Linked DNA regions of Homo sapiens: regions 2, 3, 4 and 5 are each linked to region 1. Evidence: promoter capture Hi-C in 16 types of primary human blood cells and fetal thymus (Javierre and others, 2016). All regions are on one chromosome and are shown on one strand. Each heading gives the region's core, a stretch centred on a gene start or on the middle of the fragment in contact. The rest is flanking DNA. Distances are from core to core; before and after follow the strand shown. Region 1 holds the start of STX11 (syntaxin 11). Region 2 overlaps UTRN (utrophin). Region 3 overlaps UTRN (utrophin). Region 4 overlaps UTRN (utrophin). Region 5 overlaps UTRN (utrophin).

Region 1 (4,998 bases), core at 606-3,105:
TTCTGTCCCAGGATCCCATCCAGGATACCACATTACATTTAGTTTTCACGTCTCCTGAGTTTCTTCTAGGCTGCGGCAGTTTTTCAGACTTTCCTTATTTTATTTTATTTTTTGTAGAGACAGCATCTGGCTATGTCGGCCAGATCAGGCCTCGAACTCCTGGCCTCAAGCAATCCTCTCGCTTCAGCCTCTCAAAGTGTACGGATTACAGGCGTGAGCCACGTCTGGACTGTACTTTCCTTACTTTTGATAACCTGACAACTTTGAGGAATATTGGTCAGGTATTTTGTAGGATGTTCCACTACTGGAATTTGTTTGATATTTTTCTCATTATGAGACTGAGGTTATGGTTTTCCAGGAGGGAGACCACACATGTAATATGCCACATTCATCACATCATATTGACTACATGCCATCAATGAGTCACGATTGTTGACGTTGGCTTAGAACATCTGGCTGGGGTAGTGTCTGTCGGCTTTCTCCATTGTAAACCTACTGTTTTTCCCTTTCCACATTGTACTATTTTGGAGGAAGTCACTGTGCACAGCCTAGGGTACATGATCTACATAAATTATTTGGAATTATTCTGTATAGGAGATTTGTCTCCTCTCCGCCTTTTATTTATTTATTCAATTATTTATTTATATCAGTGTAGACTCATGGATTTTTTTACTTTGGCTTGTAATCCAATACTACCTTGTTTAGTTTACTTCGTTGCTCAAATGGTTCCATCTTTGGCAACTGGGAGCTTTCAGGTGGTTCCTGTGTCTAAACATTCTGCCATCAAGGCAGGATTCGTTCTTTAGTTTTATTTTTTTTCTTCTCATTCAATTGAGACAGCGTCTCATTCTGTCGCCCAGGCTGGAGTACAGTGGCGCGATCTCGGCTCACTGCATCCTTGACCTCTCAGCCTCAAGTGATCCTCCCACCTTAGCCTCCCGAGCAGCTGGGATCACAGCGTGCGCCACCACGCCCAGTTAATTTTTTTATTTTTTGTAGAGATAGGCTTTCACCACATCGCTCAGGCTGGTCTCAAACTCCTGGGCTCAAGAGATCCTCCCCCTTCGGCCTCCCAAAGTGTTAGGAATACGCGCGTGAGCCACCGCGCCCGGCCCGATTTTTCCTTTTTTGAGTATCACTTCCTTACTTTTCAGCCTCAGCCTTGTTTTTCAAGGTGCTTTACCACCACCTGGCACAATCCACACTTTCTATTTATCCCTCCCCGTTAAAGTGCCGGGACCTGGAGGGTGGGTCTTGGCAGTATTTTTGAGCGCGGTGGGCACACAAGGGGACGCTCAGTTGATATCCAGAGAATGATGAGCCCGGCGGGTGTTGAGGCCGACTGGAGAGAGGTTGGTCGGCAGGGTTCTGGGAAGGCGGTGCTCGGCCTCCGTGTGACCGCAGGCTCCTCGCCCGCGTCCTCGAGGGTCCCAGGGATGCAGGACCTGCCGCAGCTTCCGCAGCCACACCCACGCTCAGAGACGGCTTCCAGCGTCCTCGCCGCGGCAACGCACCGGACTGCAAATGTCACCAGCGCAGCGGGGATTCCCGGGGGAAGTCCAGCGCGCTCCCTGCCCTGGGGACCAGAGGACGAGCGGAGGAAGTGTCTTGGGCGGCAAACATCCCACTCCCCGCGCCGGTCCGCGCAGCCCGCGGGAACGCCCCTGGGCTTGCGGGAGGGGCTGGAGCGCGTCCCCGGCTCCGGGCGGTCCCGAGCGCATGGACTCTGGGTGGGGCGGGAACCCGCGCTCTGTGAGCCGGCTGCCGCCGCGCCCCAGCGCTGTCATCCCGGGGCGGGGCCTGGTCCCCAGCTGTGGTCGCTTCCTAAGCGGCGGGGGCTGAGCCGGCGGCGCCCAGATGCGGCCGCGGCGGCGCGGAGCTCGGGCGGCCGTGGAGGAACTCAGCCTCGGCCGCAGGAGGCGCCGGGAGCGGAGCCGCCGGGAGTCGCGCAACAGGTTTCCTTCTCCATCGCTGCGCCCACAGGGGACGCGCGCCCTGCCGGGAGAGGGGCTTCTCGGTTCGCACTCTCGCTCCCAGTCCAGGTTTGTTTTTCTCTTCCTGAGCCCCCATTTCTCTTCCTGACTATTTTCCCCGTGCGCGGAGAGATCGGGGAGGGCGGGTCGGGGCGGGGGCACTGTCTAGGCTCGGGACCCGCGGCTGTGCCTTAGGTGGGATTTTGGATCTGGCGCAGGTCCTCACGCCGCCTCTGGGCACCTTCGGAAACACAGCATTGGGTTTCTCATATAAAGCAGAATGATTTTTTAAAATTACTTTTAATTTCAGAGGCTGAGGGACTTAGGATTTAGTGCTTCGTAAGAATTATTTTAGGGATACCTGTTGGTAGGCTGCCTTTATAAAGTGTCCACCCAAGACTACTTTTATTTTAAATCGAAAGGCTGGAGTGTTTTTTTATTATCACCTCTTCACTTCCTAGTAGGGTGACTGTGTCAAAAACACCAGAATGGGTACTTCTTGACTTGAACTTGGCGGTGTCACTCAGTAGCCAGGAAAGACGGAGAAATTGATAGAGCCTTCGAGGAGTCCCTTCGAAGCCCACGTAAGACTTTGTTTTAGAAACATGGAGAGAAGTAGTGGCAATGCCTGCGAGAGCCACGCCGTCCTGAGAGGGAATTCTGCCTTTTTCTAGACTCCGCTGACACCAGCTGAGATCTGTATTACTTCCTGTGGTTCTCACGCACTTGTTTCAGCCGTTTCTCAGCAGAGGGAGGAGCTGTTATTTACAGGTATCCAAAAATGAGTCACAGGGCTGCTCTCTTAATTGTGAGACTTTGTTAATGAACTTTTGAAAAGCGAGGCTTGCTTTAAAATGAGACTCTAGATGTGAAATGCCTGCCCTGCCAACCTGGGGCAGTGGTATGGGAAGTGACGATTGAGTTTTCAGTTTCCTAAGGCGCCTGATGTTACAACATGCCAGTAAAGGTCACTGGGCTGATCTAAGATAACCATTGAAATCATGTGCTTTGCCACAGATGCCCAAGAGAAAATTAATTTCATTATTCAATGACCATTTTGCTGTCATTTTCACTGCATGGGAGAAAGGTATCATTTAATGTGGTGATTGTAAGTAACTCTCTAAAATCAAAATATTTCAGACAGTTTGTGTTTACTAAATTGGTGCTAAAACCACATGATGATTTTTGAAGCGGGTGGGTCCCAGCGGGAGCAGAGAAATTTAAAAGTTGAAGCTGACAAGTCCTATTGCGGTGGGTAACAGCCCTTAGGAAGGGACTGCACACTATCTCAACACGGTAGAGAAGGGGACACCATCTCTACTGGAGCTGAGTTGAGCTGAATTCAGCCTCAAACAACAGTTACCAGGTACCTTCTCTGTGCCAGCCTCTTCCCTGAACCTTGCTTGTACAACCATGAATAATAGGATCCTGCCGGCAAGGTACTAGGGTAAATCTATACCCAGAGTGAAGTTTCTGTGCCAATATAACTCAATATGCTGGGTCCCAGTGTATTTAAAGAGTAGACTCAGCAGATTATCACCCCTAGATAATTGCGGTCACGATTAGTTGATAGTGTGACTTTTAAGAAATAGTGTGACTAATTAATAGTTTATTTAAATATGCTGGAAAATTCAATATAATGAGATAGGTGCTAGGGTAAATCTATACCCAGAGAAAAGTTTCTGTCCCAATATGACTGATGTTTCTGAAGATCTGGGATTTGGAATGGACTGGGTCATGGCTGGAAGAGCAAGGAAACTTTTGAGTTTAGTCATTTACTTGTCTTTGTAGGCAGCCTATTCTTCATTTGATACATGATTTAAAAATGTATGAATTTGAAAGGTATGGTTTTTAAAGTGCTTGAATGAACCATGTTTCATGTTATTTAATAACCATGTAAAACGAAATTCAGCTGATTATCACCCCTGGACAATTGCAGTCACCTTTAGTTAACAGCATGACTTTTAGGAAATGGTGTGACTAATTAATAGGTTGTTTTGTTTTGTTTTGTTTTTTGAGACAGAGTCTCACTCTGTTGCCCCAGGCTGGAGTGTGGTGGTGCAATCTTGGCTCACTGCAACCTCCACCTCCTGCGTTTAAGCAATTCTTGTGCTTCAGCGTCCCAAGTAGCTGGGACTACAGACACCCACCACAACACCCGGCTAATTTTTGTATTTTTAGTAGGGACAAGGTTCGGCCCTGTTGGCCAGGCTGGTCTCGAACTGCTGACCTCAGGTGATCTGCTTGCCTTGGCCTCCCAAAGTGCTGGGATTGCAGATGTGAGCCACCATGCCCTGCCTAATAGTTTATACATTGGTAACACTATATTGAAGCGAGTTTATGATCATTGTTTTTGTAGTTCAAATCAATGTTTTTTATCACATTATAGCCGTGTGAGCCAAAATGAATAAATCTACCGTATCACAGTTTACTGTTGCAATTGAAATCTGCTGAGATGCTTTTGAACTGGATGCCCAAGTATCAAGGTTTCCAAGTTTCCCCAGTTTGCTAAGATATCCAACTGGTAAAGGCAACAATGCTAAATTTCAGACAACTTTACCTTAATTTCCAAACTTTATTCCTCCTTTGAGAGCCCTAAAGTTACTTTTTCTATGAGAAAGAAAGGGTCGAGTTTGTCATTCAGCATTGTACTCCCTGAACTTGGCCCAGGCTTGTCTCATGATAAGTGTTAGAAAGTGTTTATTGATGGAATAATGAACCTTCACGTAGGAGGATGAATTGTCAGGCAAGTGGAATTGTCTGCTGTAGGTGACCCAGCAGAAGGAACAGCACCCATAGAGAAGTGAAACAGCACTGGACGTTCAGGAAACTCCAGCCTGTTTAGTGACGGCACAGAGGGAGGCCTACGGAGACAGGAAGGGCCAGATCACAAAGGCCCCATGAGGGTTTAATAGTACTGAAGCCTTTGAACAAGTGAATGATATTGTCAGGTATGTGTTTAAAAAATAATAACAAAACTTGGAATTTTAAAAATCTTAGATTAGATGAGAGTGACATTGACCCT
Region 2 (5,643 bases), core at 2,810-5,309, 270 kb after region 1:
GTTCCTGCAGGTCATCATATGACATATTAATGAAACCTGAGACTTGTGAGATCTTTCTCTGTGAATTGACACTACCATGTTCTCATGTTCAGGGCCTGCTTTTGCCTTCCTGCTTGAGATGAAGAAGTGCTTAGTTGTTGTCTCAGTCCTTTCAGATATTGTTGATATTTTATTACACTTTTCTGCCAATAGAAAACACTAAAGTTATGCTTGTGATATAGTCACATCAACCATTTAATGAACATCTGTCATCTTAGTTTAACAGGTAAACAAATAGATGCAGAAAGGCCAAGTAACTTGCCCAAAATTCTATGGCCAATAAGAGGCTTCTTGTTTACAGATGAGGTCATTAATGGACATCCATAATTATTTATAATATGAATAAATATTTATATTTCTTTTTTTTTTTTTGAGATGGAGTCTCGCTCTGTCACCCAGGCTGGAGTGCAGTGGCGTGATCTTGGCTCACTGCAAGCTCTGCCTCCCAGGTTCATGCCATTCTCCTGCCTCAGCCTCCCGAGTAGCTGGGACTACAGGCGCCCGCCACCACGCCCGGCTAATTTTTTTTTTTTTTTTGTATTTTTAGTAGAGACGGGATTTCACTGTGTTAGCCAGGATGGTCTCGATCTCCTGACCTCGTGGTCCGCCCGCCTCGGCCTCCTAAAGTGCTGGGATTACAGGCGTGAGCCATCGTGCCAGGCCTGTATTTCTTTTATATAATGCTGTTTTTGTTGTTGTTGTTTGTTTGTTTGTTTGTTTTTTTGAGACAGAGTCTTGCTGTGTTGCCTAGGTTGTAGTGCAGTGGCATGCAGTCTCCATCTCCTCTGGGTTCAAGCAATTTTCCTGCCTCAGTCTCCCAAGTAGCTGGGATTACAGGTGTGCACCACCACACCCAGCCAATTTTTGTATTTTTAGTAGAGATGGGGTTTTGCCACATTGGCCAGGCTGGTCTCGAATTCCTGCTCAAGTGATCCTCTCGCCTCGGCCTCCCAAAGTGCTGAGATTACAGACATGAGCCACCGTGCCCAGCCAGTTGTTTTATATTATACTATTTTTTGGAAAGTGGAGAGTGGATTTGAGAAGGGTTTCAGGCTGCCCAGGTGTTATATTAGCTGCCCTTGCCATCATCAGTATTTTCTAAGATCCTTTCTATGCCTATATAACCCCATTTGTTTCTCCCATGCGCTTTACCTATATAATATATTTTTGCTATGCCTAAGACCTGAAAGTGAATTCGGTTATTTGTTGGCTATTTTGCAGAATTGTACTTCTGGTTGGGTGGGGGAGGGGGATTAGACGTAGGCAGGTGACGAAGGCCACTTCTGCCCATTGCTTTTACTGACAGTGGGTAGCAAGTCCTCAGGGGACTTTCCCCTCAAGGGGAAATTACCCCTTACCCGGCTTCCTGAAGTTCTGCCTCTGGAAAGTGGCCCCTGCATCTTGCACATCTCTGTGTTATTTTGATTGATGGAGAAAATCTCTTTGTCCCTGAATCTATCGCTGCCTGTGAAAAAGGCAGCTGGGAACAGAAAAGCAGCTTTGTTTCAGATATGAATAAGTAACAGTGTATTCTTTACTGATTCTGTGGTGAAAATTTACTGCACTTTCCCTCATCTGAAGTATATGAATGATGAAAAAGGCACATGCTAAAAATTATGAGTTGGCTATACCTAATACCTGTTTAAAAACAGATAGAGGGAGGGGAACAAGGGTTGAAAAACTACCTACTGGGTACTGTGTTCACTACTTGGGCAATGGGGTCATTCGAGACCCAAACCTCAGTGTCACACAACATACCCATGTAACAAACCTGCATATGAACTCCCTGAATCTGAATGTTTTAAAAGATAATTAAATTATGCCTTGTAAAAAACTAAATAAAGTCTAGTTCAAGGGTCAGCTCCTGTCTGAAGCCTTTGCCCACTCCCTGGCTTGCAGTGGTCTTGGGGTCTCTCTCTCCTCTGTGCTTCTATAGCACTGGCACACTTTTCTATTCCAGACCTTACACATCGCACTGTAATTGTTATTTTCTAAAAAAGAGTATCACTTCCACTGAATGGTAAGCTGTTGAGTGTGCAGAAATATGGAATCTTTATTCATCTTTGTAATTCAGGTCTCTTCAGGTACACACACTTGTGCGCACACAGACACAGACACACACACACACACACACACACAATAAAAACAGATAAGGAATCACGAGGGAAGGAAGGAAGGAATAATGCCAAATTTTAGGAAACTTCAGAATGGCTCCTTCTTCCCCCTCCTCCATTTCAAACTCAGAGTAAAGTTTTGCTTCATATGAATGATATGTATATATTTTTTAAAGTGAGAAATGAAGAAGATAAAAGAAGTATTGGTTAAAAAATATCTATTATTGACAGGAAGTGGGACTGTTCATCTCTGTGGAGATTTTATTATATAAGGCAGTAATTCGATACAAGATAATACAACATTTATTAAATATTACATTGTATTCTGTAGTTCTCAGGGCATTTTCTTATAATATTCTATTATTTGATCTTTACAGTGACTTTTGATTTAAAAGGTTAGGTAGCTGAGCCAGGTTCACCAGGTAGTTAAAGGTCAAACTGGACTTAAAGCCGAGGCTTCCTGATTTTCTATGCGGTGATCACCCCATTGCATAATAATTCATTGTATCACAGACAGGCAAGGATCTACCAAACTTACAGTGAATGGAGTGGGATTTTCTGGCATCAGACACTAGAGCAGGATTATCTGTGGGAGTTGATGCTATTTATCAGGAAAAAGAGTTTAGAAATTCTATAAGCTTTGTCAGTTAAAATCTTGGACTGGTACTAGTTTTAAGCACAAAAAGTATTTAATTGTTAAGCCCAAAGTGCCTTAAGTGTTAAGAAATTAATAACCAGAAATACAGACTGAACACCTCAGCCCTGAAATTGATGACCAAATCACGTACTCCCATAATGGAAAGGCTGGAAGACATTGTCACACTGTGATGTGAGACGCAGTGATGAAGTGACAGTCCTTATACTTTTAGTTGGCCTCTGCACCCGGATGTTGTAGGCTCATTTACATTTTTAATGCGTCTCGTTATCATTGCTTTCTCAGGAACATATGCCATACTCAAGGCCTATTATTTTGTCGTTTATTGTTCTTTCTTCCACTTTACTGTATATTTGTGTGAAATTATGTCCAGACTTTGTAGTGTTTTTGTTTTTTGAGATGGAGTCTTGCCATGTTGCCCAGGCTGGAGTGCAGTGGCACGATCTTGGCTCACTGCAACCTTCACCTCCTGGGTTCAAGCAACTCTCCTGCCTCAGCCTCCCGAGTAGTTGGGATTGCAGGTGCCTACCGCCATGCCCGGCTAATTTTTGTATTTTTACTAGAGATGAGGTTTCACCATATTGGCCAGGCTGGTCTCAAACTTCTGAGCTTGCCTCGGCCTCCCAAGTGCTGGAATTACAGGCATGAACCACGATGCCCAACAGCTTGATTTGCTTTCTTTGTAAGGAAAAATGCAATTTATTTCAGCTTAAAATATTCTTTATGGGATTTAAAAATTTCTGTATTTGTACTTGTTCTTTCTATAAAAGACAAATTTGGGCCGGGTGCAGTGGCTCACGCCTGTAATCCCAGCACTTTGGGAGGCCGAGGTGGGCGGATCATGAGGTCAGGAGATCGAGACCATCCTGGCTAACATGGTGAAACCCCATCTCTACTAAAAATATAAAAAATTAGCTGGGCGTGGTGGCGGGCGCCTGTAGTCCCAGCTACTCGGGAGGCTGAGGCAGGAGAATGGCGTGAACCCTGGAGGCGGAGGTTGCAGTGAGCTGAGATCACTCCACTGCACTCCAGCCTGGGCGACAGAGTGAGACTCTGTCTAAAAAAAAAATTAATTAATTAAAATAAATAAATAAATAAAAACCCCCAAAAGACAAATTTGGATAGTCTGCAGATCATCCACAACATTTTAATTGAGCAAAAAATGAAGCCACTCATTTATTTGCCCAGGTATATATGGAGTTTCTGCTGTTGGCATACCCCATATTTTATTTGTGTTTTTCTTTTACAGAGTGGGAAACCACCCATCAATGATATGTTCACAGACCTCAAAGATGGAAGGAAGCTATTGGATCTTCTAGAAGGCCTCACAGGAACATCACTGGTGAGCAAGTCATCTTTGTAAACAACGGAGTCTCCGGTCATTGCTGATACTTGATGACCCAGTGTGGGTACCCATTAAAGTGAAAGTATCCATTTTACTTTACGTTCAAATGTAAAGGCTGAAATTCGGAACATTTTTAACAAAGCATTTTAATGAGTGCTTTGATACAACAACATTTTGGCTCTTCTGAGGGCTCTGTTTTTATTGAAGATAAAATTACCTTAAATGTTTATTGCTCTGAGACAGCCCAGGATGAGAGAATTACAAAAAAGAATGGATTTATAGAGAGGACACAATGTTTTGAACAGTAGAGTCTGGAGACAAACACATTTAAGAGTTAAATATTTTTTAAAACAGTTGTTAAGGCTGGGCGCGGTAGCTCACGCCTGTAATCCTAGCACTTTGGGAAGCCAAGGTGGGCGGATTGCCTGAGCTCAGCAGTTCGAGACCAGCCTGAGCAACATGGTGAAACCCCATCTCTACTAAAATACAAAAAATTAGCTGGGTGTGGCGGCATGTGCCTGTAATCCCAGGTACTCAGGAGGCTGAGGCCAGGAGAATTGCTTGAACACAGGAGGTGGAGGTTGCAGTGAGCCGAGATTGCGCCACTGCACTCCAGCCTGGGCAACAGAGTGAGACTCCGTCTCAAAAAAAAAAAAAAGTTGTTAAAAACTATGACATCTATTTTTTATTCAGATTTTCAGGATTATATTTTGTTGATTTATTTTTTAAATACAACTCTATTATTTTATGTGTGGGGTACTCCAAACTCATGCAGATAAAACTGCCAATAAAGAGGATGCATGTATGGGTACAAATGTTAACTCTAGAGGTAGAATTACTATCACAGTACAGAGAGATGCACTCCTGAAGATGAATTTCTTTCTTGCAGAAGTGTGGGATGTCATTCTCTCTCTTTGCCCTCCAGGTAGTGGGTAGACAACTGTTAGACAGGCTGATTCCTCTCTCAGATAAGGTTCTGGCCAGTGAAGTAGAAAGAAGCTGCATAGGTTATCTTTCCCCAGATGGGAATTCCCTGCCTTCCGAGGGCTCTTGCAATGCTACCTGGAGCCTGGGATGGTGCCTCTGAATCCTCCTTGCTCTGTTCACATCTGTGCAGAATAAAGAGGACACAATTTCTCTAAAATCCTTCTGCAGCCAGACCAATTAAGAGAAAGGAAGCTTTGTTCATAGAGCACTGGTTTCCAAACTTGTCTGCACATTAGAACTACAGGCAATCTTTTAAAAATCCCAAGTCCAGACCACACCCTAGACCCATTAAGCCACACTCTTTGGGGGTGGGGTTGGACAGAGGTATTGGTGTTTTTATGAAGCTGCCTAGGAGATTTCAACGTGCATGCAAGTTAGGGAACTGGTATCTTAAGATGTTGTTAGTTGAGGGATTTTCATACTGTGAACACCAGCTTCCAGGGTGGTAACCTGAGACCTCAGCCAGATCTCCTGCCTCTGAGGGGCCCTGTACGCTGAGCTTC
Region 3 (5,325 bases), core at 2,210-4,709, 290 kb after region 1:
TTTCTCATTCTTTATCCAGAAGGGTAGAAAAACCTACCTTTGATTGTACTTCTCAGTTGGGGTTCTACAGTGTGTGGGCTACAGGAGTACCCAGGTATTGATTCCTTTACTTCAGCTCTTGGGGTGAATGGATGGGGCTGGTTGCAGTCCCCAGCTTCCTTGTGCATAATGACAAGATTTGGAAGCACAGTGTATTAGTCCGTTTTCACACTGCTGATAAAGACATACCTGAGACTGGGAAGAAAAAGAGGTTTAAGGGACTTACAGTTCCATGTGGCTGGGGAGACCTCACAATCATGGTGGAAGGGAAGGAGGAGCAAGCCACATTTTATATGGATGGTGGCAGGCAAAGAGAGGGAGCTTGTGCAGGGAAACTCCTTTTTTTAAAACCATCAGACCTCGTGAGACTTACTCACTATCACAAGAACAGCAAGAGAGAGACCTGCGCCCATGAATCAATTACCTCCCACTGGGTTCCTCACTTAAAATGTGGGAATTGTGGGAGTTACAATTCAAGATGAGACTTGGATGGGGACACAAGCAAACCATATCATTCCACCCCTGGCCTCTCCCAAATCTTATGTCCTCACATTTCACAACCAATCATGCTTTCCCAACAGTACCCCCAAAGTCTTAACTCATTTCAGCATTAACTCAAAAGTCCACAGTCCAAAGTCTCATCTGAGACAAGGCAAGTCCCTTCCGCCTATGAGCCTGCAAAGTCAAAAGCAAGTTAGTTACTTCCTAGCTACAATGGGGGCACAGGCAAAGAGTAAATACATCTGTTCCAAATGGGAGAAACTGGCCAAAACAAAAGGGCTACAGTCCCCATTCAAGTATGGAATACGGTGGGGTAGTCAAATCTTAAAGCTTCAAAATGATCTCCTTTGACTTCATGTTTCACATCCAGGTCACGCCTATGCAAGAGGTAGGTTCCCATGGTCTTGGGCAGTGCTGCCTCTGTGGCTTTGCGGGAAATAGCCCCCTCCTGGCTGCTTTCATGGGTCAGTGTTGAGTGTCTGCGGCTTTTCCAGGTGCATAGTGCAAGCTGTCAGTGGATCTACCACCCTGGGGTCTGGAGGACAGTGGCCGTCTTCTCACAGCTCCACTAGGTGGTGCCACAGTAGGGACTCTGTTTGGGCCACATTTCCCTTCTGCACTGCCCTAGCAGAGGTTCTCCATGAGAGCCCCACCTCTGCAGCAAACTTCTGCCTGGACATCCACGTGTTTCCATACATCCTCTGAAATCTAGGTGGATGTTCCCAAACCTCAATTCTTGACTTCTGTGTACCCGCAGGCTCAACACCACATGGAAGCTGCCAAGGCTTGTGGCTTGCACCTTTGCCATGGCCTGAGCTGTACCTTTGCCCCTTTTAGTCATGGCTGGAGCAGCTGGGATGCAGGGCACCAAGTACCTAGCCACAAGGCACGGGGACCCTGAGCCCAGCCCACAAAACCATTTTTTCCTCCTAGGCCTCTGGGCTTGTGATGGGAGGGGCTGATGTGAAGACCTCTGACATGCCTGGAGATGTTTTCCGCATTGTCTTGGTGATTAACTTTTGCCTCTTTGTTACTTATGCAAATTTCTGCAGCCAGCTTGAATTTCTCCTCAGAAAATGAGATTTTCTTTTCTATTGCATTGTCAGGCTGCAAATTTCTCAAACTTTTATGATCTGTTTCCTTTATAAAACTGAATGCCTTTAACAGCACCCAAGTCATCTCCTGAATGCTTTGCTGCTTAGAAATTTCTTCCACAGGTACCCTAAATTTTCCCACATTTTTCTGTCTTCTTCTGAGCTCTCCAAATGTTTCCAACCTCTGCCTGTTACCGAGTTCCAAAGTCACTTCTACATTTTAGGGTATCTTTTCAACAGCACCCCACTCTACTGGTACCGATTTACTATATTAGTCCATTTTCATGCTGCTGATAAAAACATACCTGAGACTGGGAAGAAAAAGAGGTTTAATGGACTTACAGTTCCACATCGTTGGGGAGGCCTCACAATCATGGCAGAAGGGAAGGAGGAGCAAGTCACGATTTACATGCATGGTGGCAGGCAAAGAGAGAGAGCTTGTGCAGGGAAACTCCCTTTTGTAAAACCATCAGATCTCGTGAGACTTATTCACTATAATGAGAACAGCATGGGAAAGATCTGCCCCCATGCTTCAATTACCTCCCACCAAGTTCCTCTCAAAAAATGTGAGAACTGTGGTAGTTATAATGCAAGATGAGATTTGGATGGAGACACAGGCAAACCATATCACACAGGAGCTGATCTTATTAAGTGATCCACTGACTTCTTCTCAGAAGCACTTGAGGAGCTTGTTAAAATGTAGATTCCTAGGCTCTACCCACTACCTAAATCTAGGTGAGGGAGGGATGCAGTGAATTTGCAATGTAAGAAAAATCATGTGCATAGTAAAGTTTGAGAATTTCACCTAGTAGGATTCAATATCTCAGTGTTTTCGGTAGATTAATATGTGAATTTCAACAACAGTTTTGGAAACCTCCCAAAATTGCTTCTTTTTGCACAAAGGCAATAGTGTATCTTTACAAGTCTTTAACAGATAAATTTATTGGTATTTCATTTGAACAATACTTGGATTTTCTGGTAAGACGTTGCCAATTTATTTAAATATGATGCCTCATTAAGTGAGGCAATCCAAACTGTAATTTCATCACGTGAGGTCCTTTTGCTTTTGTGATATTTAAAGTCAGCCAGAGGTTCTAAGACTTGTATGCAGTAGTTAGTTATTATAACCTGAGAGCTAAGTATTCATGCCTTGACTATTTAGCAGTAAGGAATCTGAGATTCAGAGAGGTTAAGTAGTCCTCCTGAGATTTAAATAGACAATGAGTTATCATGCTGAGACTGGAAATCTATCTTCTGGCTCTTAAGTTTTCTCCCCCTTTGTACTATGAAAAGCTTATTCTCATATTAAGTATCAAAATAGTATAATATGAATTAAATAATTCTTGTTCACATGTATATAGTACAAAAATAAATTTTAACATTTGTTAATCATTATTTGTAAAATTGTAATAAAATGATTTTGGGAGAAAATAATCATGAAGAGTGATTTTTTATAATTAATAAAATTTATTTAGTATTGCTGATACTAGTAAGATTCTATTGCTAATTTATGTAACTTATGGGGAATTTTTTTATGGATCACATAATGTAAACAGAACAAATCATTTGATTTTTTTATTGTCTCATAAAAATTCTCTTATTCAAAACAGGTTTTATAAGTTAAACATTTTTCATAATTTTGGTACCACAGATGAAAATTTTCTTGGCATGTAAAAGAGAGTTAAGGAATATAACAGACATGCTGGTTTTTTTAGCTAAAAATTTGAAAAATTTGAAGCACAAAAAGTAGATATGTTTGTTTTATTTTTTAATAATATGTAAAAATGTCATATTCTCATAAAAACCACAATGAAATAGAAAGAGCAGGTTTGGAGTCAAAGATTCAGAGGATACAGTTCTATTATGTTAGTTTCTAGCTATGTGAAATCATTTGTTCAATTCTATGGAAATTAGTTTTTCTGATTCATACATTTCTAGGCCTAGTCTGTTATTTTAAAGCAATTTTTATAAAAATACTTTTTATAAGTTGTTATTCTATAATAAAGAACAATGGAAATCATGAATTTCTTCAAGGATTGTGATAACTCTCTCTTAAGGCTGTGTTGACAAAGGATGGTTTCTCCTTTTTCTAGAAACTTGGTGAGCGCTGGACAGCAGTATGCCGTTGGACTGAAGAACGCTGGAATAGGTTACAAGAAATCAATATATTGTGGCAGGAATTATTGGAAGAACAGGTATGAAACTGTTTTCCATAAGGGGCAAAATAAATGGTGAAAAGTAACCCATCTTTTATTGTGACTTTAGAATAAAGTTGCCTTGTTTACTTTTCTTTGAAAGGAAAATATATAAATAATTATTTTAAAGATCAAATTTCTATCCAGTTTATAACTGATCATGAAGCTTATTCACAGAGATTGTGTCATTTGGCTCCATTAATTTGACCTGTTTTCATTACTTGGAATGTTAGTACTTAGAAGATATGCTATTTTCATGATTTGTTTGACATCATAGTTATTAGTGGATTTGTGTTGGGTGATGTATTTGAATTTGTATCAACACAATGCCTAGCATATAATTTGTGCTCAGTAAATAATGAGTAATGAATCCACTCAACACACTGTGAACTTTAATTCCCTAGATTTTTTCTTGATTTTTAACAAGTATTGAAATTAATGAGAAAATATTATTTAGTCACACCTTTGATTTAACACTGGATTAATTGCATATTTTTTCCACTAAGTGTTATCACAGCAAATGAATCTGTTGTACAAAGCTGCCACCTTAATTTTTCAATAGGACTGGTGGCTCTTTGCCTGTTCTCTGTCTTTCCAGAAAAGCAACCATTGAAACAAAATACAAATAAACAAAACTTTTCTCCCCAAATGCCAAACAGTTGTGGTTTAAAAAATAAGTAGATACTGGCCGGGCAGGGTGGCTCACGCCTGTAATCCCAGCACTTTGGGAGGCTGAGGCAGGTGGATCACTTGAAGTCAGGAGTTCAAGACTAGCCCGGCCAACATAGTGAAACCCCGTCTCCACTAAAAATATAAAAATAAGCCAGGTGTGGCGGTGGGTGCCTGTAATCCCAGCTACTCAGGAGGCTGAGGCAGGAGAATTGCTGGAACCCAGGAGGCAGAGGTTGCAGTGAGCCGAGACTGTGCCACTGCACTCCAGCCTGGGAGACAAGAGCGAGACTCCCTCTCAAAAAAAAAAAAAAAAAAGCAAATACTCTATTCCCACATCTCTCAGTGTCCATTTTGATTCTTTTAAATGCATTTCATTTCCATCTATAAGAAGCAACTATATTCTCTTCAGGGGAAAAAACTCAAGTGTGTGATGTTTTGTGGCTTACTAAATATGGTGGCAGATAGTTGCAGAATTTGTCCAAATATAAATTGTTAATGACTACTTCCCCCCCCGCCCTCAATCTGTGGTCAGATTTTTCTTATTAGGAATCACAAAAGGGACCTGATTCTGATTTATGAAATGTTTACATTTCATGTTACAAATATTTACATTTCACTTTATAAATATTTATGTTTATTGTGAACCTTGTATTTAGGCCAAAAAGTCTCAGAATAGTTAAAATTTTACTTCAATAATGACAGTAGAAAGGCTGGGCGCGGTGGATCACGCTTGTAATCCCAGCACTTTGGGAGGCCGAGGCGGGCAGATCACTTGAGGTCAGACCAACATGTTGAAACCTGTCTCTACTAAAAATGCAAAAAAT
Region 4 (5,079 bases), core at 1,371-3,870, 340 kb after region 1:
ACCGCACCTGGCCTACAAAAACTTATTAAAGCTTCTGTGGAGGTCAACATTATGTAAAATACGATATCATGTATTACACAACGATATAGAACTTTTGTATTGTCTCTTTTTATACTTAAGTAAAAAAAAAAGGACATCCTCTCCCCTTTCCAATCTCTTTTTAGAAAATCCAAGCAGAGATCTCAGCCCATGAGCTAACCCTAGAGGAGTTGAGAAGAAATATGCGTTCTCAGCCCCTGACCTCCCCAGAGAGTAGGACTGCCAGAGGAGGAAGTCAGATGGATGTGCTACAGGTAAAGAAGGCCAGGAGCTTCCTTTTACTTTTCAACTTGTTGGGAATTTTCTTCAAAAAAGAGAAAGAATTGATTACTTGGGCACCGTTTGTATTCTTTGTGATGTAAACCATGGGATGGGAGTGATGATGTGTTGAAGGTTGCATCCTAGGGCAGCAGAAACAAATTGTTGCATGTGTGGAAAAATATGAAATCTGATTTTGATAGCTGAGATGAGAAACAAGAGAGTGAGCCAGATTTAGAAGTTAGCTTTATATACACTTTTTCTTTAATGCAGAGCCTCTGTCAGTATCGTGTGGCTGATGCTGTGGGCAGGCCGAGCATGAATTGGATGCAGCATCATTTAGTTCTTTCATGGTTGATATGACATTGACTTTCACTCTGAACTTGTGATGAAGGGCATTTTGAGTTCTAGGTTCCTGAACTATCTTTTTGAACATGAAGTTTTAATTCCAGTGAGGTCAGCTTTATCTAAATTTCTTATCCAAATCTATTACTTCTGAGATTGAGACACTGAGTGTTGTAATTTTTGACACTGGGCTATGCAGTTCACTTAGGTGATCGGGTACCCTCACTGAGATTCATTAGGAGTTTTTTATTTTGGGTCATATTTCTGAATTTTTTTCTTTTGGTACTTTATGGTACAAATTTTTAGTAGTATCTGTTATGCTCATGATGAGAGAGATAATCATCCTGATGGGAATTGCATATTTTCATTTCTGCAAACAGAGGAAACTCCGAGAGGTGTCCACAAAGTTCCAGCTTTTCCAGAAGCCAGCTAACTTCGAGCAGCGCATGCTGGACTGCAAGCGTGTGCTGGATGGCGTGAAAGCAGAACTTCACGTTCTGGATGTGAAGGACGTAGACCCTGACGTCATACAGACGCACCTGGACAAGTGTATGGTGAGGCTTTTGGGTGATTGGCACATCCAGTGGCTTTTTCAGCAGCTGTTATGGCTTGGTCTAGCAAGTACATGCCTAGTGTGTCCAGTGATCACTAGTCTACAGTGTGCTAAACATAAGGATTGATGATGGAAAACGTGTTAAAAAATAAGAAGTGTGGTCTTTCCCTCCAAAGAAATTAGAAGAGATAAGAGAGATAGCTAAGGAAACTAGAATAGACATGTATATAACATGATGACAAAAACCAAAACAAAAGAAATACAGCTTAATCACCATGTGAAGTTAGGAGGGCTTCAGCAGAGTGTGACTAATAAGCAAAGTTTTCAAGGATAAATTTGAATTAGCTAGAAGAACCATACTTAGAATGGATATCGTAAAAATTCCATTTTCTAGGAAAATAAAAATTTCAATAGAAATTTAAACCTTAAGATAGGAAAGAAGAAATGATATATAAGGCCTTATTACTTTTTTAGTCTTGAACTTTATAATTCAATTGAATAGAAATTTAAAAATAATGTGGCTAAGGGGACACAATCTTAGAATTAGTGTTCTGCTTGAGAATCACAGAACTTAAGATGAGACTCTTTAGGACAGGAGAGGTATAGGGACAGTTCTTTGTGCTTTTCAAAACAAAGGATAAATTTTAATATATATGTGCATGTATGTAAGTATTTATTTGATTATTGTGACATAATGGTAATCAGAGAAAGTGCTGTCCTTGACTTCATGGAACATACATAGTTCAGGGGTCTGTTACATGACAGCGTCCTATGAGATGTTGAGATGATGATGTATAGGTGTCAAGAGAAGCTGTTTAGAATAAAGCTTTTTGGTTTCAGGTAACTAGGAAGAAGACAGCTCTGAATTTGACCTACAGAACTACGATTTCTTTTTTTATATTTAAATTTATTTTTATTTTTAATTTTTGAAGACTTTTAGGTTCAGGAAGTACATGTGCACGTTTGATACATGGATATATTGTATGATGCTGAGGTTTGGGCTTCGACTGAACCCATCACCCAAATAATAAATGTAGTACCCAATTGGTAGTTTTTCAGCTCTTGCCCCTTTCCTCCTTCCCTCCTTTTGGAGTCCCATTGTCTTTGCTTTCCATCTTTATGTGCATGTGTGCCCATTGTTTAACTCCCACTTATAAGTGAGAACATTTAGTATTTGGTTTTCTGTTCCTGAATTAATTTACTTAGGATAATGGCCTTGAGCTGCATTCATGCTGCTGCAAAGGACATGATTTCATTTTTTATGGCTGTGTAGTGTTCCGTGGTGTATTTGTACCACGTTTTCTTTATCCATTCCCCCATTGATGGGCACCTAGATTGATGACATGTCTTTGCTATTGTGTGTAGTGGTGTGATAAACACGGGAGTGCATGTGTCCTTTTGGTAGAACGATTATCCTCCTTTACTTATATACCCAGTAATAGGATTTCTGGGTTGAATAATAATTCTATGTTTAGTTCTTTGAGATATTTCCAAACTGCTTTCCCTAGGGGCTGAACTGATTTACAATCCTACCAACAGTGTATGGTGTTCCCTTTTCTCTGCAGCCTTGCCAGCATCTGTTGTTTTTTGACTTTTTAATAATGGTCATTCAGACTGGTGTGAGATAGTATCTTATTGTGGTTTTGATTTGCATCAGAAATCTGTTTACTTATAGTTATATACATCTTGATATATCGAGTTTTGTATTTTTTATCATACAAATTATATATGTTCATTGTGGTAGACTTAGTACTTCTGAGAAATAGAAATAAATGTTAATAATTCCAAATCCAACAGACAGCAGTAGCCAGTGTTGGCTTGTTTTAGTCATAACATGCAAGATTTTTTAAAAATGTAATTTTAATTGTGATAAACATTCTGTTTTTAGTCCTAATGTTTTCCCATTTTATGTAGGAAAAATATTTATATTATCAAGTACTTTCATAAGCATTTGTCTGAGATTTTGAAAGAATGAGCATAAACTCTATTAGTTTATTTTCTTGTCAGATTTGAAGAAGTTATTACAAGCTTGATTTCATTTGACTCGACCTTCAGACCAAATCTGAGAAAGATGATGGCCTTTGATCACCATAGTTAGGTCTTGGCTGTCAATCTGTGTAAGCTGTGGTCTGACATGATGCCAGTTGGCAAGTTGTCACCACAGTGTGTAATTTGTCTTTTTCTTTGTTTGTTTTAAAGAAACTGTATAAAACTTTGAGTGAAGTCAAACTTGAAGTGGAAACTGTGATTAAAACAGGAAGACATATTGTCCAGAAACAGCAAACGGACAACCCAAAAGGGATGGATGAGCAGCTGACTTCCCTGAAGGTTCTTTACAATGACCTGGGCGCACAGGTGAGGAGAGCAGCCCCACAGCTCATCTCTCTGTCTCTCTCTCTCTCTCTCTCAATCTCTCTCTCTCTCTCGTTCTCTCTCATGTATTTTTAAATTTCATTTTTTGGAAAATGCATGTTTGAAAATTATGAGATTCATACGTGTTTTCAATTTATTGTAATAATTGTTATATTTCTTTAAATGTATGTGGTAATATTACAGTGATTCATAGTTACATAGAAATTTATTTTTGGCTAGGCACAGTGGCTCACGCCTGTAATCCCAGGTCTTTGGGAGGCTGAGTCAGGTAATGGCTTGAGCCCAGGGGTTTGAGACCAGCCTGGGCAACATGATGAAACCTTGTCTCTACAAAAAAATACAAATGAAAACCTCCAAAAACAAAACAAATTTCCAAAAAAAAATTAGCCATGGTGGTGAGTATCTGTAGTCCTAGCTACCTGGGAGGCTGAGGTGGGAGAGCTGCTTGAACCTGAGAGGCAGAGGTTGCAGTGAGCTGAGATCACACCACTACACTCCAGCCTAGGAACAGAGTGAGACACTGTTTTTAAAAAAAATTTATTTTTAATATTTAATTCAGGCTAATATTTATACTTTCAATGGCTACTGATATTCCATAAATTATTCTAAGGATACTACAAGTAATATATGTTCATTGTGGTAGACTTAGTGTGTCTGGAATTGGTGGGTTCTTGGTCTCACTGACTTCAAGAATGAAGCTGTGGACCCTCGTGGTGAGTGTTACAGCTCTTAAGGTGGCGCATCTGGAGTTTGTTCCTTCTGATGTTCGGATGTGCTTGGAGTTTCTTCCTTCTGGTGGGTTCATGGTCTTCCTGGCTCAGGAGTGACGCTGCAGACCTTTGCAGTGAGTGTTACAGCTCTTAAGGCAGCGCATCTGGAGTTGTTCGTTCCTCCCAGTGGGCTTGTGGTCTCGCTGGCTTCAGGAGTGAAGCTGCAGACCTTTGCAGTGAGTGTTACAGCTCATAAAAGCAGTGTGGACCCAAAGAGTGAGCAGTAGCAAGATTTATTGCAAAGAGCAAAAGAACAAAGCTTCCACAGTGTGGAAGGGGACCCGAGCGGGTTGCCACTGCTGGCTCGCGCAGCCTGCTTTTATTCTCTTATCTGGCCCTACCCACATCCTGCTGATTGGTAGAGACGAGTGGTCTGTTTTGACAGGGCGCTGATTGGTGCGTTTACAATCCCTGAGCTAGACACAAAGGTTCTCCATGTCCCCACCAGATTAGCTAGATACAGAGTGTGGACACAAAGGTTCTCCAAGGCCCCACCAGAGTAGCTAGATACAGAGTGTTGATTGGTGCATTCACAAACCCTGAGCTAGACACAGGGTGCTGATTGGTGTGTTTACAAACCTTGAGCTAGATACAGAGTGCCAATTGGTGTATTTACAATCCCTTAGCTAGACATAAAGGTTCTCTAAGGCCCCACCAGAGTAGCTAGATACAGAGTGTGGATTGGTGCACTCACAAACCCTGAGCTAGACACAGGGTGCTGATTGGTGTGTTTACAAACCT
Region 5 (5,816 bases), core at 987-3,486, 320 kb after region 1:
TGACCTCGTGATCCGTAGCCTGGGCCTCCTAAAGTGCTGGGATTACAAGCGTGAGCCACCGTACCTGGCCCTTATTTGCATTCTTTAAGGCCTGGTTCCAATGTTACCTTCTCTCTAAAGTCTCTTTCTCTTTGCAAAATGTTTGCTTTCACATTTGTCTTTGAACCCCTATCGCCATACACAGTAGCTGGATTTTATATATATAGTAGGTGCTTAATAAATGTTGGATGAAATATTGGAGCTGAACGGGGACTGTCTTGAGTTCTCAGATAAAAAGGCATCCAAAAGCAGAAATGAGAACCATCTATTGTATTCCCTCTACCGTGCTATTTGTTTATTCCTGCTCTGAGTTACTAACTTTAGAGAAAAATTGTTCTAAATTATATCAGAGCAAAATATTTTATAGCTGATAAAACCTAGAAATGCATTTTTTCCCTGTAATTTGCATTTTAAATCATAACTATTGCTTGCATTTAAGCAAAAAGAGCTAGCGTTTGGAAATTTTTAGAGTGGTTACTAACCTGTCATCTCTTGAGGATTTTAGTCAAGAATGAAGAAAATAATCATTTTCAAATTTGGAAGGTTTAGAAAAAGAAATAACATAAATGAAAGCGATGCTATCGGAGCTTTAAAAAGTTCCTTTGTTCCAGTGGCGGTAGATCTTGAGATGTAGTAGGCTGAACGTCACGAAGTAATATCCCCCTCTGTTATCATGTTCGATTAGGCCGATTCAACAGTCATTGAGAAGTGGATGGATGGCGTGAAAGACTTCTTAATGAAACAGCAGGCTGCCCAAGGAGACGACGCAGGTCTACAGAGGCAGTTAGACCAGTGCTCTGTGAGTTCTGCTGATCTGGGGAACTTGTCATAAATAACATTTTGTTCTTTTTCTATGTTATTTGCTGCTATTATTAAAATTGTGAGAATATAGCATAGCATTACATCTAGATAAAATATCTTTCATCATAAAGCTTTTATGACTTTATAGCTAATAAAAGAATGACAGATTCTTCAAGTTTTTATTTCTGGACGTGGTTATAGAATTTTGAGAGGTTATAGAATAGAGAACAAGAACAATTTTGGTTCATTAGGAGTCATTGTATATTGCATTTCTTGTGCCACATGGTGAGGATTTAAGAAAAACATATTTAACAAATGAATTTGAGAAGTGTCTGTTCATCAAATTCATTTAAGTATGTTTTTCTTAAATCCTCACCATGTGGCACAAGAAAAGCAATATACAATGACTCCATGTTGTGCACGTGTACCCTAGAACTTAAAGTGTTAAAAAAACAAAAAACAAGAAATGAATTTGCTAGTAATAGTGCATGCAGTTTATATTTGGTGAAATCATCAGGCTTCTCTACATTAATTAAAAGGCTATTCCCTTCTGAGAGTCAAGTATTTCCAGTCTAATTTGGCAGATGGCTATATCAAGCACCCAGGTGAAATGAGTTTCTTAAGGCACAATATTTCTTAAGTAGTTAGAAGTACTGACTCTTAAGCAGTCTGCTTGTGTAATATTTGCAGGGAGATAAGCAGACAAACTATAATTATGGCATCCACTTATATAGTAATGAACTCAACATGCATCTTTTATGTGTTTAGGCATTTGTTAATGAAATAGAAACAATTGAATCATCTCTGAAAAACATGAAGGAAATAGAGACTAATCTTCGAAGTGGTCCAGTTGCTGGAATAAAAACTTGGGTGCAGACAAGACTAGGTGACTACCAAACTCAACTGGAGAAACTTAGCAAGGAGGTGAGTTTTTCAACTTTACTACCTACGGTTTTCAGGAGATGTAGACTGTAGCTTCTCTCAGCTGACTAAATGTATTATGACCCATCCAGTTTGAAAAACGATGGTCTAGAATAACTCCAGCATGGGTAGTGAGCTGGGGCCAAAAAAAAAGGCATCATTTTTTAAATTAAGAGAGGGTGCTGATTGTCCAGTTTGGCTCAGGGCTTATCCATTCTTGTCTTAAATCTGGCTTGAAACACATTTATGACACTTGCTTTACCCCTAAGACATTTGAGTGGGACCATTTATTTACTTAGCAAATATTTCTTAATCAGTTGCCACCTGTCAAGCATCATTCTAGGCACTGCAGGTACAGCATTGAACAAGGAAGAAGAAACTCCTCTTAAGGAGCTTACATTCTAGTGAGGCAGATGGATAATGAATAATATCATGGAGGAGTAGCAAGGAGTTAGGGCTAGGTGGGTTATTTCAAATAGGATGGTCAGGGAAGGACTTTCTGAGATGGGGATGTTTGAATAAAGAACTGAGTAAAGTAAGAGATGAGCCTTGTAAGGTTCAGATAAGAACATTCAGGCGTGGAGAATAGCAGGCTTTAAAACTCTGTGGTGGGAATGAACTTGGTCTGTTTAATAAAGAATGAAGGCAGTGTAGCTGGAATAAAACAGAGAGGAGTTAGTGAGTTGGAGAATGGGAATATTTGAGGTTAGAGGTAGGCAGAGGATGGATTAGCTATGGCCTTGGAGGAAAGGACTTGGGATTTATTTCAAGTATGATATTACACAGAAAGCAATTGGAAGGTTTTGAACAGGGAAGTGACATGTGATATAGATCTTTTAAGGTCACTCTGGCTTTTTGTTTTGTTTCCTTTTTTTTAGCAACAGTATCTTGTTGTATCACCCAGGCTGGAGTGCAGTGGCACAATCCTAGCTTACTGCAGCCTTGAACTCCTGGGCTCAAGCAGTCCTCCTGCCTCCTGGGTAGCTGGAACTATAGATGTTCACCACTATGCCTAGATAATTTTAGAAATATTTTTGAGCCAGATGCAGTGGTGCATGCTTGTAATCCCAGTACTTTGGGAGGCTGAGGTGGGTGGATTGCCTGAGCTCAGGAGTTTGAGACCAGCCTGGGCAACATGGCAAAACCTTATCTCTATAAAAAATACAAAAATTAGCCGGGCATGGTGGTGTGCGCCTATAGTCCCAGCTACTTAGGAGGCTGAGGTGGGAGGATGGCTTGAGCCCAGGGGATGGAGGTTGCAGTGAGCTGAGACTGCACCACTGCACTCCAGCCTGGGCGAAAGAGCCAGATCCTGTCTTAAAAAAAAAACAAAAATTGTAGAGATGGGGTTCTTAGAGGCTGAGGCAAAAGGATGGCTTGAGGTCAGCAGTTTGAGACCAGATGCCAGTCTGGTCAGATGCTGCTGACCTCAAGCAATCCTCCTGCCTCAGCCTCCCAAAGCGTGGAGATCACAGGCATGGGCCATTGCACTCGGCCTCTCTCTGGTTTTCATGTGAATAGTTTGCTCTGGGAAGGCAGGAATGAAAACAGAAAGAATTCTTATAAGGTTACTGCAGGCTTGGAGAGAGAGGATGGACCCATACACTAGGGAGGCTTAACGAAGTAGTGATGGAGGGCATGAGAAATATTAGGTTTGAAAATAAAGAAGAGACCTAAGGAAAGAATTGGATGTGTGATAGAAGAAAAAGTGAATGGTCAAGGATGACTCAGGATTTTTACAAAGCTTCCACTTTGTGTGAATTGTGGTGTCATTTACTGCAATAACGAAGGAGAAGCTTCTGTGGGTGTAGGTGAAATGATGACTACCATTCTGGAAGGGTTAAATTTGATGCTAGAAGCTAAGGAGGAAAAATCAGTAACGGGGAATGTGGGGTCCCAAATGCTAGGTGGAGAAAACTTTTCACAGGGCCTAATGCTGAGGATTGCAGGGGCCAATCAAAACAGAAAATCGAGCTTTAAATTTGATAAGAAGGAGGCATTTAATAACCTTGAGAAAGCAGGGTCAATGAACTGGTGGGAAAAAAGTCATAGTGGATAGTTCGAGGAGGGTATGGGAACTGAGGAGCTGGGACACCAAGCATAACCAACTTTGAGAAATTTCTGTCTTCAGGGGAGCAGAGAAATGGGTGGGTGCTGGTGATGGGAATCCAAAGAGGTGGTTTTGTTATTTTTAATAATGAGAGATATTAAATGAGAGATATTAATAAGAGGACCTCACTTTAGAAAAAAAATGATGGTGCAGAAAGAGATTGAGATAGGAGAATTTATCAAGTGAAGTCTGTGATTATGCGAGGATGAGATCCACCGTCTAAGTGAAGATGTTGCTAGAGATATGGTTTCTCCGTGGTAATGGAAGGGAGGAAATGATATGGGAACAGTAGAACTGGGAGGTATTCTTTCCCAATTGCTTTGATTTTTATTAGTGGAATAATAGTGAGGCTATATATAGCTGAAGTGAGTGACAAAGCAGTGAAAAATAGAAGTCAATATGAAATATAGGCTTACCCCACAGTCACGTAAATAGTACGTATTTCTTAATAAAATGCTTTTGGCTAATGTTTGTATCAGAAAAATTTATATTTGCATAACTGAATATTTTGCTTTGTGTTTATTGTTTTACCCAACTTATTTTGAACATGTTCAAATGTAAAGAAAAGTTAAAGAATGATAAAAAGGAACAGCTGTATATCCATCCATTCAGAGACTTGCTAATGTTTTACCACATTTGCTTTCTCTCTCTCTGCCTTTCTCTTTATACACACACACACACACACACACACACACGCACACACCCTTTTTTTTTGGTACTTTTGAACAGTAAGTTGAAAACATCATGACACTTCACCCCTAAATACTCTAGCATGATTTTCCAAGCATGAAGGCATTCTTCTGCAAAACCACAATACTATGATCACACTTAAGAAACTAATAATGTTATACTCTCATCTCTTATCCTAGCTAAATTCAAATTTTTCTCAATGTGCTATAATCTGATGGCATGTGCCTTAAGGAACTGGGGTTTTTGAGGAAATAGAAAATGGTTTGGAAGTGGCAATGAGGATCAAGGAAGGTGATAATTAGAAGTTTGTATCTCTATCTATCTATCTATCTATCTATCTATCTATCTATCTATCCATCCATCCACATACATATGGTGACAAATAATTCATTGTGAATTACTGATTCAAAATACAGGAATAAATATATGGGAAATTTAAAGTGTCCTCAGGAAGGAGGTAACCACATGTGTGAATAATTATCTAGAGCATTTCCAGACTATTGCATTGCATTGACTAGTACAAATGTTGAAGTAGTTTTGGACAAACATAATTTTGCCAAATTTTCATTTTGCTAAAAAGAACAGGCATATAAAACAAATCAACAAACAAAGATAGTCTATTTCATCTATTATATTCATGATATCCTGAAAAAAAGGAACATTTTAATGCCAAAAAATAGAAAGTATATATTCTCAGGATAATTAAAGATAATTTTGAGGGTGTTTTGTTGTTGTTAAGCTTATGGTAGTGTCTTTATTTTCTTCATTTCTTTTTGGATCTGTGAAAATTATATTGCTGACTAGTGTTCAAGAAGTACACATACAGAGAATTTTCTGGAAATGGGGCCCAAGAATCTCTGTCTCTCTCTTTCTCTTTCTGTGTGTGTGCATGTATTTTTATGAAAAGCTGACCAGGTTAACCTGATGATCAGCCAGGCTTGGGAATGGGATTGTGAGTGTTGCTGGCATCAGCTCCTTGGTTACCCTGTGGGGACAGTGGAAGAAAAGCTCTTGTTTGGTCCTGTCTATTTTTATGCCGGAGATCCTGTTTGGAGGGAGGGACTGGGAAAGCCTCTGTCTCTTGCTTAACTCTAACTTCTGTGAGAACCATCCAGCTCCTGTGCTGGCCTTTGGTTACTATCCACCTAGCAGCCAAGCAGGCCCTGGCAGGGTGGCCACTACTGTGGCGTTTAATTTGAGCATGAGGCTGAACCTGCCAAGTAGAGGTTGGACTGTGACTGCAGAACGGCGCCTT

The links. The method cuts DNA at HindIII sites, captures the fragments that hold promoters and counts their contacts. A CHiCAGO score of 5 or more calls a contact.
Region 2: a fragment that was not itself captured here is called in contact with the fragment with the promoter of STX11 in region 1 in 4 of 17 cell types (total B cells, naive B cells, naive CD8 T cells and 1 more); the score reaches 7.2 in total B cells.
Region 3: a fragment that was not itself captured here is called in contact with the fragment with the promoter of STX11 in region 1 in 5 of 17 cell types (naive B cells, total CD8 T cells, total B cells and 2 more); the score reaches 6.4 in naive B cells.
Region 4: a contact is called between a fragment that was not itself captured here and the fragment with the promoter of STX11 in region 1, in 1 of 17 cell types (megakaryocytes). The highest score is 5.3, in megakaryocytes.
Region 5: a contact is called between a fragment that was not itself captured here and the fragment with the promoter of STX11 in region 1, in 3 of 17 cell types (total CD8 T cells, naive CD4 T cells and naive B cells). The highest score is 6.8, in total CD8 T cells.

Annotation. Positions count from the first base shown.
Region 1 is chr6:144,148,662-144,153,659 of GRCh38, forward strand. STX11 (syntaxin 11) reads left to right here and starts at 1,856. Exons shown (of 2, transcript NM_003764.4): 1 at 1,856-2,042. RefSeq lists a silencer at 1,543-1,982. The HindIII fragment of the contact is 10,810 bases long and covers 1-4,998 here.
Region 2 is chr6:144,417,821-144,423,463 of GRCh38, forward strand. UTRN (utrophin) reads left to right here. Exons shown (of 75, transcript NM_007124.3): 4 at 4,058-4,150. Among named protein-coding and RNA genes, the nearest start is that of SNORA98, 15 kb to the left of the region's middle. The HindIII fragment of the contact is 2,541 bases long and covers 2,790-5,330 here.
Region 3 is chr6:144,440,554-144,445,878 of GRCh38, forward strand. It overlaps UTRN (utrophin), which reads left to right. Exons shown (of 75, transcript NM_007124.3): 14 at 3,728-3,829. Among named protein-coding and RNA genes, the nearest start is that of SNORA98, 38 kb to the left of the region's middle. The HindIII fragment of the contact is 1,068 bases long and covers 2,926-3,993 here.
Region 4 is chr6:144,489,907-144,494,985 of GRCh38, forward strand. UTRN (utrophin) reads left to right here. Exons shown (of 75, transcript NM_007124.3): 31 at 165-293; 32 at 1,023-1,196; 33 at 3,395-3,550. Among named protein-coding and RNA genes, the nearest start is that of SNORA98, 87 kb to the left of the region's middle. The HindIII fragment of the contact is 1,202 bases long and covers 2,020-3,221 here.
Region 5 is chr6:144,472,996-144,478,811 of GRCh38, forward strand. UTRN (utrophin) reads left to right here. Exons shown (of 75, transcript NM_007124.3): 24 at 725-838; 25 at 1,609-1,764. Among named protein-coding and RNA genes, the nearest start is that of SNORA98, 70 kb to the left of the region's middle. RefSeq lists an enhancer at 10-1,209. The HindIII fragment of the contact is 2,534 bases long and covers 970-3,503 here.